Regions from separate parts of the Homo sapiens genome. Here region 1 is linked to region 2. Evidence: promoter capture Hi-C in 16 types of primary human blood cells and fetal thymus (Javierre and others, 2016). All regions are on one chromosome and are shown on one strand. Each heading gives the region's core, a stretch centred on a gene start or on the middle of the fragment in contact. The rest is flanking DNA. Distances are from core to core; before and after follow the strand shown. Region 1 overlaps LINC02250 (long intergenic non-protein coding RNA 2250). Region 2 holds the start of NPAP1 (nuclear pore associated protein 1).

Region 1 (5,430 bases), core at 2,615-5,114, 810 kb before region 2:
AATATTAAGTCTTTCAATCTGTGAACATGGGGTGCTTCTTCATCTATTTAAGTTTGCCTTAATTCCTTTCAGTGACAATTTTTAGTTTTCAGTGTACAAGTCTTGAACTTGTATAATTCTTTGATTAAATTTATCCTAAATTATTTTCTTTTTAATTCTATTAGAATAGAATTGTTTTTCTTAATTTCATTTTCACATTGTTCATTGTTAGTGCCTAGAAATACAACTGATTTTTGTATATTGACCTGGTATCCTGCAAAGTAGGAGAACTTGTTTGCTAGTTCTAATAGTTTTAAAAATATATTATTTCTAGCATTTTCATGTCATCTAGAATAGAAATAGTTTTACTTCTTTCTATCTACTCTGAAAGCATTTTATTTCTCTTTCTTGCTTGATTGCCCAGGCTAGAATTTCCAGTACAATGTTAAATAGAAGTAAACATCCTTGTTTTGTTCACGATCTTATGTGGAAAGTATTCAGTCTTTTACCATTAAGTACAATATGACTTCTGAATTTTTCATAGGCTTCTTTATTTGGAAGAGGAATTTGTATTCTGTTTGTTGAGTGTTTTTTTTTTAAAGAAAGGCTGTTGGATTTTGTCCAATGCTTTTTCTGTGTCTATTCAAATTATCATGTGATTTTTGTTCTTTATTTTATTAATATGGTGTACTAAGTTGATTGATTTTTTAATGTTAAGCCAACATTTATCCTGGGGAAATTCCCATGTGGTCATGGTCATTCTCATCCTTTTTACATATTCTGGATGTGAATTGCTAGTAATTCAGAATTTTTGTGTCAATATTCACAATGGATATCAGTCTGTAGTTTTCTTATGCTGTCTTTGTCTGGTTTTAGCACTGGGGGTAATATTGTCCTTATAGACTAAGTGGGTAAATTCCTTACCACTTTGAAAGAGTGGGGGAGATGAGTATTCTACTTTTTGAAAGAGTATGTAGGAGACGAGTATTCTTTTTTGCATAATTGGTAGAATTTGCCAGTGAAGCCACCTGGGCCTAGAATTTCCTTTGTGAGAAGTTTTCAAATTATTAACTCAATGTCTGTACTTTTAATAGATCTATTTATATTTTCTATTTCTTCCTGAGTCAATTTTAGCACTTGGCATCTTTATAGGAATTTGTCCATTTTATCCAGATTATCTAATTTGTTGGCATAGAGTTTGTTTGTTTCGTTTTGTTTTGTTTTTGAGATGGAGTTTCACTCTTGTTGCCCAGGCTGGAGTGCAATGGCACAATATTGGCTCACTGCAACCTCCATCTCCTGAGTTCAAGCGATTTTCCTGCCTCAGCCTCCTGAGTAGCTGGAATTACAGGCATGTGCCACACGCCCAGCTAATTTTTGTATTTTTAGTAGAGACAGGGTTTCTCCATGTTGGTCAGGCTGGTCTCGAACTCCCAACCTCAGGTGATCTGCCCACCTCAGCCTCCCAAAGTGCTGGAATTATAGGTGTGTGCCACCGTGCCAGGCCCGGCATACAGTCTTTATACTTTCCCTTATAATCTTTTTATTTCTGTGAGGTTGGCTTTTTATTTTAAGACTTGAGTCTTCTCTTTTTTTTTTCTTGCATAGTCTACCTAATGCTTTATATACCTAATGGTCAATTAGGTCTATTTGTGTCACAGTGTTGTTAAAATGTTCTATTTCCTTCTTAGTATTCAGCCTAGTTGTTCTATTCACTATTGAAAGGGAGATATTAAAGTTTCCAACTATTGCTGAGTTGTCTATTTCTCCCTTCTGTCAGTTTGCTTCATGTATTTTAAAATTTGTGTTGTTAGGTACAGATATGTTTATTATTATTGTGTTTTCCAGAGGGATCACTACCACTTTGTCACTTATCCTTTGTGTTTAGTAACAAGTTTTGTCTTAAAAACTATTTTTCTTGATATTGGTATAGACACTTCAGCTCTATTTTGGCTACTGTTTGCATTGTATCCCTTTTTCCATCATTTTACTTTTAATGTATTTGGTTTTCAAATCTAAACTGTATCTCTTATAGACAGAATAGAATTGGATTATATTATTTCTTCTGCCAGTCACTGTCTTTTACCTGATGTATTAATTAATCATTTATATTTAATGTAGTTACTGATAAGGTGAGATTTATGTCTGCCATTTTGCTACTTGTTTTCCACATGCTTTATGTGGTTTCTGTCCCTGTACATGCCCATTAATATCTTATTATAGTAATATATATTTCTAGTGTACAACTTTAATTTCTTTGTTGTTCCTTTTACTATGTATTTTTTTAGTTATTTTTGAGTGGTTAATAACATAGTAACAATATCTTTCAGATTAAACTAACTTAATTGTAATGGTATTCAAAAGCTTCATTTAAATATAGCTCCATTCTCCTTTCATTGTGCATCATGGAAACTATATACATTAAAAGCTCATCAACAAAGTTTTATAATTATTGCTATGTGGAGTTGTCTTTTAAATCAGAAAGTAAAGTGTTACAAACTCATGCGGATTCAAGTTACTAATAAATATCACTTAATTTCAGCCTGCAATACTTCCTTCAGTGTTTCTTGGGGAGCAGGTCATCTACCACTGAACTTTCTCAGTTTTGTTTTTGGGGTTTTTTTGAGACAGAGTCTTGCTCTGTTGCCCAGGTGGGAGTGCAGTGGTGTGATCTCAGGTCACTGCAACTTCTGCCTTGCAGGTTCAAATGATTCTCCTGCCTCAGCCTCCCACGTAGCTGGGACTACAGGTACCTGCCACCACACCCAGCTAATTTTTAGTAGAGATGGGGTTTCACCATGTCTGCCAGGCTGGTCTCAAACTCCTGACCTCAAGTGATCCTCCTGCCTCAGCCTCCCAAAGTGCTGGGATTACAGGCATGAGCCACCACACCTGGCCTCAGTTTTTTAAAATCTACAGCAGCTTTAATTTATCCTTTATATATAAAAGATAGTTTTGCTGGATATAGAATTCTTGATTGACATTCTTTTTCTTTTGGCACTTTGAATATGTCATTTCATTGCATTCTCATCTCTATGATTTTTTTATGGAAAGCTAGCTATTAATCTTATTATAGATCACTTGCATGTAATGAGTCATTTTTCTCTGTCTTCAGTATTCCTTATTTGTCTTTTAACAGTTTTGCCTATTATATGTGTAAGTGTAGATTTCTTTCAGTTTATCTAATTTGATATTCTTGGATATGAACATAAATGCTTCCATCAAAATTGGGATGTTTTGGTCATTGTTTTCCTCAAGTATTCCTTCTCCTCCTTTTTCTCATTTCTCTCATTCTTGGACTGCCTTTATGGGTAGGTTGGTGTGCTTGATGGTGTCCCATAGGTATTTATGACTGTTAATTTTTCTTCATTCTTTTATATATTTCTGTTTCCCAGGCTGCATAATCTGAATTGACCTATTTTCAAACTCATTGATTCTTTCTTCTGTAAGATTAAATCTTCTGTTGAAACCCTCTAAGAAATTTTACATTTCATTATGATAGTTTTATTTATGTTTTGATTAATTAATTAATTAATTTTGAGACAGAGTCTTGCTCTGTCATCCAGGCTGGAGTGCAATGGTGTGATCTTGGCTCACAGCAACCTCTGCCTCCCAGCTTCAAGCAATTCTTCTGCCTCAGCCTCCCAAGTAGGTGGGATTATAGACACCTGCCACCACGCCTGGCTAATTTTTTGTATTTTTAGTAGAGATGGGATTTCTCCATGTTGGCCAGGCTGGTCTTGAACTCCTAACCTCAGGTAATCCACCTGATTTGGCCTCCCAAAGTTCTGGGATTACAGGCATGAGCCACTGCACCTGGCCTCATCTTATCTTAAGCTAAAACTTAAGATAGTTTTAGCTCTACAGTTGCCATTTGATTCTTTTATTATTCTCCAGATGGAAATTAAGAGAAATAAAGTGAAAAATGGAAAATTTGGGGCAAAGTTTAATGTGGAAGGACTCTCACAATGACCTTACGGTTTTTATTCTCTGGCTTGGCCAAAATGTAAATGGAAGTGGATGTGTCAGCCTCTTTACTCCATTCTCTGGCCAACTGTCCCTTTTTTAGTCCTGAAGAGGAAGACTTATTTCCTTCCTCAGCTTACTTCTTCCTATCTGCGAGTCTATTTCCTTTGAAAATGGTAAACTTTCTGTTAGCAAATGCTAAATGTGAGCAAAAGTGTTTCTTTCCCACACTTGAATCTTCAGTGGCTAGGCCACTGCCCAGTAAATACTAGCTGCTCAACAATTTTTTATTAAATAAAATGCACTATCTTTGTGGGTACATTCCCTTATAATTTAACTTATTAAAATTTTACCACCAGAATAGTAGGTTGACAATCCCTATGAATCTACCTTTCCATCAGAGCAATAAACACAGTAGCCAAAATTGTCAAAAAATCAGTTATTTAAGAGATCTTGAAATTAACCAAAGGTTTACAGTAATCTGAGGAGAGTTTGTTCCAGAAAAACTGCTGAAAGTGGGAAAGAACAGAGGGTTTATGGCATTGTAACATAATCTAGCCCCATATCCCTCTGTCTAGCTATACAATAGACTTGAAAACTATCTGGAGAATAATACAATTCTTAAAATAAAAAGTCTACAGTATGCCTTGATCAGAACAGCAGAAAAGGACCAATATGTACAGAGGAAAAAACTATTCTATTGCTAGATTTAGGGACACTGAAATGTCAAGTATAAAAAGTAGGTGACAGGAAGCAGAAAATAAAGCTAGAAAGATAAAAAAGACAATAGGCTGGATGCTATAGGTGTCTCCTTAATAGAAAAGGGTGCTTAGGGACAGCCATGGATGGATAATTTGTTTCAGGGGTTTAACTGGCCACAGGTCTCTGTATTTCCATGATTCAGGGGGTGTATGAGTCACTCTAATTTCATTTTAAAGTGATTTCACTTTCACCAATTCAATATTGCAAAAATACACGGATTGCTTCCTTACAATTTGACAGAAAGTATTTCTGCATCTTTATTAAATGACCAGATCTTTTCCTCAGTAATAAATCGTATTAAAAGCATTGGAGAAAGTGTCAAGGCCAGCTTAATCTAAGAAACATCATCCAGCAATAACACAAGTGCTGTGATGTTACCTAAACGTCCTCAGCAGAAACTCAATTTCCTTCCTCTAGGATGTATTCAGTTTCCTTGCTTGTGGCCTTGTTCACACCCAGAGGCTGTATTACGGTCTGGTTCAAGATAAGCTGATTCCATTACTGGCCTATGGAGAACTCAATACAACGCTATAGGATGGAGACAGAAATTTACAGAAGAATGACAAAGAAATGCAAAATCTATGAACAGAAATAATTTGGGGATAAGCACAAAGCCACCAAGTCAATAATCCTTAATGTTAGAATCCATCCTGGAGGCGCAGACAGAAGGAAAGCTTTTCTCTGGCAATTGAAAATATCCAGACCCCCGCAATTCTCTTTAAC
Region 2 (5,115 bases), core at 650-3,149:
ATTTGGGAGAGAGCTCACTCTGGAGCTTAGGGAAGATGTGAAAATAACAACCTGAGATGGGGCAGTAGTATCCATATTAACTACTTCAGGGTCTACCGCAGTCTGTGAGGTTAGGTGGGCAGATGCGTTTGTTGTGACAGTGGAAATGACTGACGTGGAATTCATAGGCTTGCTGGTGATAACTGAGGTCCCGGTGGAAGGGACTGGAAGAAGAGTCAGGAAGGAAAGAGGAGGAGGGGAATCCACACACATAGATATTGGGGACTCCCTTGTGACGGGAGGCTTGAAGGAGGGTGTGGAGCTAGGAGGTGTTGGGGGGTCAGAAGTGAGAGGCGCTGCTCCTACGACTGAATTATAAGAGCCTCCTTTCTCATTAGACTGATCACCCAAAATGGGAACAAGGTCAGCAGGAAGAGCCAGAGGAGAGTTAGGGATTGTGAATGCTATTTTCTCATCCATTTTTGGTGTGGTGGAAAGTGGAGGGATAGGCAGGATGAGGGGTCCAGTAGCCAGGTCAGCCAAGTCAGGGATGGGCAAAGGAGCTGAGACCTGGGAAGTGTAAGTGGTCAGGGGCAGGGAGTCTGTGGTCTGCACAGGTTGGGAGAAAGAAGGGGCAGGCTGGGTGATGCTGCTGTTTGTCATGGTCTCTGTTTTATCCTCCAAGATTCTGCTATTCCTTTTATACTCAGGGCTCTTCTCCAAGGTGTGTAGGTCTCCCTCAACAGACAGGCAGGGGAGCTTAGCAGGTGGGGGAAGCTCACCTCGATCCCACAGCAATGGCAGTGAAGGGGGCAGCGGCAGCAGCAATGGAATCGACATTTTCCTTTTGCAGGGCCTGTTGCGGGCAGCTCTGGGAGGAGCAGCGCTCCTTGGAGGAATACAGAAAGGCTTCTCATCAGGCATCCTCTTTCCGGACATCAGCGGAATCGGCAAGCCTAGGGAGCTGGGCGGTGGCTCTTCATTCAGCACTTCCGCAGCCAACTTCTGCTGCAGCAGGGAGCAGCCAACGGCTGGCTCAGGGGGCGCTGTTGCATCCGGATCAGGCTTTCCAAGATGCCGGGCACATCCGGCCTGGCTGTGTGTGCTGGGCATGGCAGGGCCTTCCAAGCAGGAGCTCGCTGGAGACGCCTGGGCCTTCTCACTCATGCTGTTTTCTGAGAACTTGTGGTAGACATTTCCCTCCAGAGGCCCAGGGCTGCATCTGAAGGAGGCCACGTCTCCCTGGGTGCCCTGGGACCTGGATGTGGACGATGCTTCTCCGCTGCTAAGGGGGGTCCTTTTCTCGTCATCCTCCCCTTCGATCTGCACCGGATCCTCATCCTTCTTCACTCTTCTGGGCCCTTCTTGGGCCCACACCTCGGTCTCCTCCAGGAGAGTGGCTGGGATGGGCTTCCTGGCCTTGACCGCCGGCTCACGTGGTGAAGGCAGCAGGAGAGTGAACATGCGGCTGGGAGGAGGGATCCTTACGGAACTGGGGTGTCCAAACCTCGGGGGGTTCCGAGCAGGCAGCATGGGTGTCTTCCTGATGGCCAGCCCCCAACCCACAGCCGGCAGGACCCCCAGAGGGGCGGCCGCAGCCCGAGGGAGAGGACACGGCCTCTTAGGGGCGACGAAGATGCTGGCTGCTGAAGGCCTGCGACGGGCGTTCCGGCGGAACAGGCCGCGGAAAGGGCGCGGGGTGGGTACAGAGTGAGCCCGACCGGGCGGGGAGGCGTCCCGGGACAGGGGAGCGGGGGCGCCACGCCCTGGCCCTGGCAGGGGCCGGCGGCGGCACCCGGGTCTAAATTTACTAAGTAAATTGCCCATTTAGAGCTAGCCGTGCCTCCTACCGTAAAACAGGGTCAGCAGTGGACTCAACTCTCCTCAGCCACCGCCTCCTCTGGCGACCAAGCACAAACTGACTGGCTCTACGCCTGCGACGCCGCCGCGAGGTTCCTCACAGAACCAGGGAGCGCCAGCGGGGGCGCAAAAGGCAGGGGTCAGAGGGCAAAGGGCGACGCCCCGTCGGCCCCAGCTGCCCCAGGACCCCCGGAAGCCCCGCTGCCGGTGGCAGGTGTTGCACCGCGTGGCCTCTATGAGGGAACTGCTGGGGCCTGCGGGCCCATCGCCAGAGCTCTTGTCACCTGGGCGCCGGCTCTGCCTGTTCCTTAGCCCTGGCCCGGCGCTGTTGCACGCAGTGGCCCTGTGTCGGCCGTCCCCATTCCCCGGTTCACAGAGGGCACATCTGCTTCAAGTTAAGCACAGGACAACCTATATCCTGCCAGCCTCCTCTAGGACCTTGGCAGTGCTCTGTGCTGCCTGGAGCCAGGTGTGCCGTCTCTGTGGCGCCAGGGTCACCAGCCAGGCCGTGAGGGTTTCCGAGGAGGGGACGTGGTGCCTTGTCCTGACTAGATGCTACGCCCTACCACATCTCTTCCTGGCAGGCAGGGCCTCTTCACTTCTTTTCACAAATTTGTTTTAAACAACATTTAAGGCTGGGCGCGGTGGCTCACGCCTTTAATCCCAGCACTTTGGGAGGCCAAGGCGGGTGGATCACCTGAGGTCAGGAGTTCGAGACCAGCCTGACCACCATGGTGAAACCCCATCTCTACTAAAAATACAAAAATTAACTGAGCGTGGTGGCACGCACTTGTAATCCCAGCTACTAGGGAGGCTGAGGCAGGAGAATCGCTTGAAAGCGGGAGGTGGAGGTTGCAGTGAGCTGAGATCACCTCACTGCACTCCAGCCTGGGGGAACAGAGCAAAACTCTTGTCTCAAACAAAAACAAAAACAAAAAACCACAACAAACAACAGCAACAACATTTAAGCCTTAGGCTGCTTGCTCCTTGGGTCATTGATATGACAGTGGCCTAGCCAGGCTTCGAACCTGGGCTGTGTGATTCCAGAGCTGGTGCCGTGGCCTGTGTGCCTCCTTGTTATGGACACATCATGTATTCTCATTATTTCCTGTAGTCCTTAGGGTACCTAGCACACAGCACATCTGTATTAAGCACATGCGTTCCTAGGGGGAAGCCCTTACTTCACCTCATAAGTTGGTCATGGCAGGCACTGGGCTCCAGTCTCCTCTGAAGACATGGGGCAGCGACCCCCAATAGTCAGCAAAGCAGCATCCCACACTGTTCTTCTAATTGAGCCTTGCAGCCCAGATTTCCTTTTTGGTCTAGTTTGAAGGATCTAAATATGTAAAGATTATAGTCCAGATCCATTTTGGCCTATCCCGAAAGAAATTCACCAGTGGATTAATCCAAATGGATAAGCCAGTTCTCTGGCCTTCTTGGAATATGTTAGAAAGCAAATTCATCATGTATTTGCAAGTCAGTAGTGGAGCAATGTATTCGATTAAAATATGATCAATACAATTTGGTCATTGTCCGCATGCCAGCAAGGCCCACTCTTTACCACACATTACTGTCACCTAAGTATAACTATCCATATTCTTATGCCCAAGGAAGGAGACTTAATATTGGTTTTTAGGACAAAGGAAATATGTGTTACTGTTTTAAGAGCTGGAAGTTTCAGCATGACAAGAAAGATTTGGAAAATCCTACACATGACCTTATCTAGTTTTAATCTTGTTTCTTTGGTTTATTTAACTGGACTGCTTTGCTCTCTTTGGGCTAATGTTGTGTGCCAGACATAGGACATGTGGAAGGTTCAGAACCAAGAATCAGAGATCAGTAAAAATATTTTAATGTATTTTTTAGTTTAAAAATCGATTTAAAATAACATCAAACCTAGTTAACATACTACAAAATCCTTTTTATCCCCCTGTTCATATATTTTATACTATGTCAGAGTAAATGTGGGCTTCCATACCCAACAAAGCTTATGTTTCTAGGACACAAAGTTTTGCTCAGACCCAAATTCTGTTTAAAAAGAGGAGACATATTATAAGTCCTTCCTAACCTCTCAGGGAACCGAGAAATTGTTTACAATTATGGCATTTAACTGTAATCTCTTGATATCATTTGAGGAGAGTTTAATAAAAAATAATCTCTTGATTTTATTTGTTTAAACAAAAAGAACAATCTGGTACAAGTTTTGGACAAAGATTTCCTACAAGAACTCTGAAACAAAATCAAATGTCAGGCTTATTTGAAAACAATAAATTACAGCATTTTCCCCCAAACAGGAAAAATGCATTAAACAAATAATGAATATTGGGGCTTCAGGACAATAAAAGGAAATTTGGACAAGGGTATTCCAGAAAAATCCACCTCTTTATTTTTCTTGTCAAATGGGAATAGATGCTTTTTTTGAATATAAAATCTTCCTTGTGTTTGTGAGGCAAAATAACATTAGATGGCAACTGATTATTCTGAGATCTTTTGACTTGGCAGACGCAAACATGTTGAGATGAAATTTGTCAAGGCAAAATATTTTCCAAAAATTTAATTTAATAATTATATAAATACTGTGATAATAGCAACAATTTATAGTTGCCAGGTGAGATTACTTGTAATTTAATAATTTTTTAAAGCACCAATCTCCAGTCATATCAAATGAATCTCTGGGTGGCTAGCTTTGTATAGAATTGTGGTAGTGACAATAAACCATACCTAGCACCCTATAGTTGAACACTTTCACCAACAACCCACTGTAAGTCATACAGAGTTAATGTGAGGACACACTGAATCCTTTGGACTTTATTGACTCATGAACCTCATTAAATGAACTTTTTTCCCTAAAATAATTTCAGTCTCCTCTCTCGTGAAGAAAAGTTATCTGAAAAAGGAATGTGGAGGAAAGAGACTTTATTCCAGTGAACTGTTTGCATCCTCTGTTGCAAAACAAAGGTGCATTCCAGAAAACAAAGGGAAGACTTGGGTTTTATAGCAAAAGTTCGCTGTCCAGGTTCCCACATAAGTTTCTTTAGGCAAATGAAGGTTTGAAACTGGCTTAGTTCTGGCCCACTGTGGTGGCTCACATCTGTAATCCCAGCAGTTTGGGAAGCCCAGGTGAATGGATCACTTGAGATCAGGAGTTTGAGACCAGCCGGGGCAACACAGTGAAACCCTGTCTCTACTAAAACTACAAAAATAAATAAATAAATAAATAAATTGGCTGGGTGTGGTGGTGCACACCTGTAATCCCAGCTACTTCACTGGGTGAGG

What was found. Contacts are between HindIII fragments. The CHiCAGO score rates a contact against its expected background, and 5 or more counts as called.
Region 1: a contact is called between a fragment that was not itself captured here and the fragment with the promoter of NPAP1 in region 2, in 1 of 17 cell types (M2 macrophages). The highest score is 6.3, in M2 macrophages.

The regions. Positions count from the first base shown.
Region 1 is chr15:25,487,087-25,492,516 of GRCh38, reverse strand. All of the region lies in intron 4 of LINC02250 (long intergenic non-protein coding RNA 2250), which reads left to right. Among named protein-coding and RNA genes, the nearest start is that of UBE3A, 51 kb to the right of the region's middle. The HindIII fragment of the contact is 3,038 bases long and covers 2,346-5,383 here.
Region 2 is chr15:24,672,559-24,677,673 of GRCh38, reverse strand. It overlaps NPAP1 (nuclear pore associated protein 1), which reads right to left and starts at 1,899. Exons shown (of 1, transcript NM_018958.3): 1 at 1-1,899. The coding sequence starts at 1,806. The HindIII fragment of the contact is 3,995 bases long and covers 1-3,828 here.